Regions from separate parts of the Homo sapiens genome. Here region 1 is linked to region 2. The links are contacts of gene promoters, found by promoter capture Hi-C in human tissues and cell types (Jung and others, 2019). All regions are on one chromosome and are shown on one strand. The core of a region is centred on a gene start or on the middle of the fragment in contact, and the rest is flanking DNA. Distances in the headings are between cores, read along the strand shown. Region 1 overlaps PML (PML nuclear body scaffold). Region 2 holds the start of ULK3 (unc-51 like kinase 3).

Evidence for each region. The method cuts DNA at HindIII sites, captures the fragments that hold promoters and counts their contacts. A contact is called where the count stands out against the background at its distance.
Region 1: a fragment that was not itself captured here is called in contact with the fragment with the promoter of ULK3 in region 2 in 1 of the 25 tissues and cell types used here (dorsolateral prefrontal cortex).

The regions. Positions count from the first base shown.
Region 1 is chr15:73,998,228-74,000,927 of GRCh38, reverse strand. PML (PML nuclear body scaffold) reads right to left here. Exons shown (of 9, transcript NM_033238.3): 2 at 2,452-2,700. Among named protein-coding and RNA genes, the nearest start is that of PML, 4.9 kb to the right of the region's middle. The HindIII fragment of the contact is 4,698 bases long and covers 1-2,700 here.
Region 2 is chr15:74,841,741-74,844,440 of GRCh38, reverse strand. ULK3 (unc-51 like kinase 3) reads left to right here and starts at 1,285. Exons shown (of 16, transcript NM_001099436.4): 1 at 1,285-1,437; 2 at 2,021-2,161; 3 at 2,246-2,366. The coding sequence starts at 1,336. It overlaps SCAMP2 (secretory carrier membrane protein 2), which reads left to right. Exons shown (of 9, transcript NM_005697.5): 9 at 1-711. RefSeq lists a silencer at 804-1,523 and enhancers at 786-1,697, 1,766-2,291. The HindIII fragment of the contact is 11,414 bases long and covers 1-2,700 here.

The sequences.
Region 1 (2,700 bases), core at 101-2,600, 840 kb after region 2:
AAATTTCTTATATTCTTCAAATTGTTCTAGAGCAGAGAAATTATAATAGAATTTTAACATTCACTGAGTATTTAATATGTGCCAGGCACTACGCTAAACAATTTATATGTACAGTTGGCCCTCAGTATCTGCAGGTTACGCACCCGTGGATTCAACAAATCTTGGATCAAAAATATTCAGGCGAAAAAAAATCAATTAAAAAAGTACCACAATAAAAAAATATACAAATTCAAAAATATAGTAAAACAACTCTTTACATAGCATTTACATTGTATTAGGCATTATAAGTAATCTAGAGATGACTTAAAGTATACAGGAGGGGATGGGTACAGTGGCTCACACCTGTAATCCCAGCACTTTGAGAGGCCTAGGGAGGGTTGCTGCCTGAGCCCAAGAGTTCTCAAGACCAGTCTGGGCAATGTCGTGAAACCCTGTCTCTACAAAAAATTTAAAAATTAGCTGAGTGTGGTGGTGCACACCTGCAGTCCTGTATAATCTGGTGGCTGAGGTGGGAGGATTGTTTGAACCCAAGAGATTGAGGCTGCAGTGAGCCACGAGTGCAGCACTGCACTCCAGCCTGGGCGACAGAGCAAGACCCCGTCTCAAAAAATAAAAATAAAATAAAAAATAAAGTATACAGGAGGATGTGTAGAGGTTATATACAAATACTATGCCATTTTATATCAGAGACTTGAGCATCTATGAATTTGAAACAGACTCCCATGGATCCCGTGGGATGGCTGCATTATCACGTTCAAAACATGAAAGCTTACAAATTCATTAAGAAATTAGTATAAGGCTGGGCATGGTGGCTCATGCCTGTAATCCCAGAACTTTGGGAGGCCGAGGCAGGTGGATCACCTGAGGTCAGGAGACCAGCCTGACCATTATAGTGAAACCCTGTCTCTACTAAAAATGCCAAAAAATTAGCCAGGCATGATGATGTGCACCTGTAATCGCAGCTACTTGGGAGGCTGAGGCAGGAAAATGGCGTGAACCCGGGAGGTGGAGGTTGCAGTGAGCCGAGATCGCGCCACTGCACTCCAGCCTGGGTGACACAGCGAGACTCCATCTCAAAAAAAAAAAAAAAAAATTAAAAAAAATTTTTTAAATCCAAAAGATAGAACCAGAGATAAAGCCAATTTCTCCTAATTTATTGCAATTTCAATCAAAATCCAATAAATATGTAAGTTTTAAAACTGCATAAATTGTAAGAGCAAAAGAAATGCATACATTTTTTTCTTTCGAGGAATTTGTTCCTGAATTCTTTAATTAGTCCCTTAATTCCTCAACGGAAACAACAACAACAACAGGCAAAGGACCTAAACAGGCCACTCGCAAATGCAGAAACACAATGGCCAATAAACAAGTGGAAAGCCACTCAACCTTTACAATAAGCTAAGAAACGTGGTGATACCAGCTGTTGAGGAGTCGGAGGGGAAAGCTTATTCTGATAGTGTGGGAAGTTTATCCTAAAGCAGGAAACAAATCACAGTCAGTTTAGCAGATATGTAGTTCAGCAAATATGTGGTTTAGCCATATATAGTTCTGAGTTGTCAAAAACCAGCGAAAAATGCTTTCATTTTGCAAGTGGATCTCTAAGAACCAAGAAGCGCCTTCTATGAACAATCTATTGCTAATGGTGAAAAGTTCACATAGTTATGCTACCTTTTTGGCTAAAAGAGGGAAAATAGGACCTGATAAGATTGCTCCTACCTGCATATATATTCGTAAAGAAACTCTCAGAAGAAACATTCAAAACTAGTAACAATGGCTACCTGTGGATGGGAAGAGGGAGAAGTGGTGGGAATTAGGCAGTTGGGCATGGACAGAAGATTGCACTCTCTCTCTCCTCTTTACAAATTTTGTTCGTGAACTGTACGAATGTATTACCTATTAAAAAACTGAGTTAAAATCTGTTTAATAAAAATAATTACAACTGGATGTGATTTTTTTTCCCCATACAGACATTCTCAGATAGCGCTGCCTGGTGTTAATGGTTTCAACTTTTCAGACAGAAACTAACTACTTGTCTCTGATCCTAGAATCCAGCCTTACTGAGATTCCGTGTCAGTGCTCTCGGAAAATTCCACTAAATTCTAAAGGGCAGTTTGGTAACATGTATCAAATGTAGAATTCCCGTCCCCCTACACCCAGCAGTGGCACTTCTAAAAATTTATCCTAAAGAAGTTACTGGATAAAGATGCAAAGATGATTCTGCAGCATTATTTATTACAGGAGGAAACTGGAAACTTACTATCCACCTGCGTGGGGACTGGCAGCATAAATTGTGGTCATCAACACGGACACTGCATATCTGCAGACCACATTTAGAGTTGCAAGGCCCCAGAAGCTCCTTGTCCTCAGCTGTGTGACTCTTTGGATCTTTGCTCCTCTCGCCCTCTACCTGGTACTTGGATGCACCACCCCACCCTGTGCCGGCCTACTCACCTGGTCAGCGTAGGGGTGCGGTGGTTGGGGTTGGAGCAGAAGATGTTGTTGGTCTTGCGGGTGCCGTCCAGGAACTCACGCACCGACTGGTTGCGCAGCTCTGCTAGGGGCCGGGCCTCGTGCTTGAGGAACCACTGGTGTGCCTCGAAGCACTTGGCGCAGAGGAGCTGCTCGCACTCAAAGCACCAGAAGTCGGCCGACTCTTTGCAGCGGGTGCACACAGCCTGCGCATCCACAATCTGCCGGTAC
Region 2 (2,700 bases), core at 36-2,535:
GCACCCTCCTGCAGGGGATGGCACTTTGAGCCCTCTGGAGCCCTCCCCTTGCTGAGCCTTACTCTCTTCAGACTTTCTGAATGTACAATGCCGTTGGTTGGGATTTGGGGACTGGAAGGGACCAAGGACACTGACCCCAAGCTGTCCTGCCTAGCGTCCAGCGTCTTCTAGGAGGGTGGGGTCTGCCTGTCCTGGTGTGGTTGGTTTGGCCCTGTTTGCTGTGACTACCCCCCCCCCTCCCCGAACCGAGGGACGGCTGCCTTTGTCTCTGCCTCAGATGCCACCTGCCCCGCCCATGCTCCCCATCAGCAGCATCCAGACTTTCAGGAAGGGCAGGGCCAGCCAGTCCAGAACCGCATCCCTCAGCAGGGACTGATAAGCCATCTCTCGGAGGGCCCCCTAATACCCAGTGGAGTCTGGTTCACACCCTGGGGGGTGTGTCACTGTGATGGGACACGTAGGAGTCCACCCTTAAAACCAGCACCCTGTCCCTCGAGGCTGCCGAGTGGGTGTGTGGACTGGGGTGCCTTCCCACAAAACTAGCCTCCGGCTCTGGGCCCGAGACAGCCGCAGGCCCCAGCCACTGAATGATACTGGCAGCGGCTGGGGTTTTATGAACTCCTTTCTGGTATTTTTTCCCCTCTATGTACAAATGTATATGTTACGTCTCAATTTTTGTGCTTAAGTAAAAATAAAAACATTTTCAGACAACACGGGTCCACATGTCTGGTGGACTTGGGAGGACGGGGCAGCCCACAGGATTAGGGGCTGGGCGCCGCTGCTAAGATTGGAGAGCGGGGACAGTTAAGATGCAATAAATAGGTCAAGGCCCTTCCTCAGAAAAGTGAAAAGCAGCTGGGAGGCCTGGGAAGCCAACGCGGCCTCTTCCAAAGGCGCCTTCTCGTGCCAGTAGCTCTCCTTTCAGAGCTGCGGGTCCTGGGGAGGGGCCCTGGGAGCCTCCCGGACGCCGTCGCCCCCACACACGCCCGCTCCGCCGCCCGCGCCCTCACGTGGGCGATCTCTAGACGCCTCTGCGCCCGCTAGGAGTCCCCGGAGACCACGCCGGCCGTCCTCCGTTGTTAACTTCTAGGCTCGCGGGGCCTCCGTATCCCCACGTGGGCCCTGCAGGAACTGGCGGGGCGCGTGACCCGGCGAGGCCCAGAGACAGGGGAGGGGCGCCGGGAGCCGGGCGGATCCGCGTCCCCGATGCGCGCTGCATTTCCGGCGGGCGGCGCTGGGGGCAGCGTGGAGCCACCCAGTGCTCGGCCCGCCCCGCAACCCGCCGGAACCGCCGCCCGCAGCGAGGAAGCGCCCGCGCGGGCGCAGGCGGCCGGAATGGCGGGGCCCGGCTGGGGTCCCCCGCGCCTGGACGGCTTCATCCTCACCGAGCGCCTGGGCAGCGGCACGTACGCCACGGTGTACAAGGCCTACGCCAAGGTGGGTGCCGGCCGATGGCCCCGTGCCCGCCCGAGCTAGCTCGGCTGGTGCCGGCCGGGGAGACTCTGAGAGGTTAGCGACAGTGTGGGAATAGTTAGGGGCGGGAGGCCGGCCTCGCCCCAGCTGACCCTCGGCGGAGGTTGGAGCCGACTGCCACGCTTAGGTCTTAAAGAGCGCACCTGCACCCACCTGCAGGGTCAGTGGCTGAAGAACAGGCTCAAAACAGGTTACCTGGTGGGCTGGGAGGAGTCTGGGACTGGAGCCAGTTGGGAGGCAGAGTGGGCGGTTCTAGAACCCTGAGTGACATGCCTCTGCCGGGAGCACTCCAGAATGCAAAGAAATGGATCAGCTAGCCGAGGGTTGGAGAAGACCAGGCTGAGGCTGTGTCGGGAAGCCAGGATTCCAGAATCAGCATTCCTCACTGGCCTCACAAGGGAAAGCTGGGAAGCCCGGTGCTGGTGTGCAGTAGGTAGACCCGGGGAGGGGCGGGGTGGGGGAACAGAGGGAACCAGATAGAGCCTTTCCAGTCAGACAAGGGTCCTGGCCCCCTCAAGGCAGAGTCCCCAAATCTCCTGTCTCGCAGAAGGACACTCGTGAAGTGGTAGCCATAAAGTGTGTAGCCAAGAAAAGTCTGAACAAGGCATCGGTGGAGAACCTCCTCACGGAGATTGAGATCCTCAAGGGCATTCGACATCCCCACATTGTGCAGCTGAAAGACTTTCAGGTGTGAGCCTGGGGCGGGGCCGCTGCCAAAGGGAGCTGGAGAAGGGACACTCTCTTCAGGCCGCCTCTCTGCCTCTAAACACAGTGGGACAGTGACAATATCTACCTCATCATGGAGTTTTGCGCAGGGGGCGACCTGTCTCGCTTCATCCATACCCGCAGGATTCTGCCTGAGAAGGTGGCGCGTGTCTTCATGCAGCAATTAGGTAAAGGCCTGTGACACCAGCCTGACACTCTGTCCCTTGTTCTCTGCCCCCCACCATCCCACCCCTCCCCCAGGCTTAGAGCCTTGGCACGCATTGCAGCTGCCTCCTGCACAGCCTGAAATTTTATGGTCCTGTTTATCTCATACACTCAACCCTTGCTCAAGGACGCTGTGGGAGAGATGAGGGGGTAACCCCTCTGTGGGGTGTTCAGGCTTCCATACATAGAACATAATATAAGGACCTTGTAGAACATTCCAGAGTCCTGTAGGTAGGACTCAAGTGCTGTGCCAAGGAAAAGAGCAGGATCTCAAGGGCTGGGGCATCCAGAGAAGCT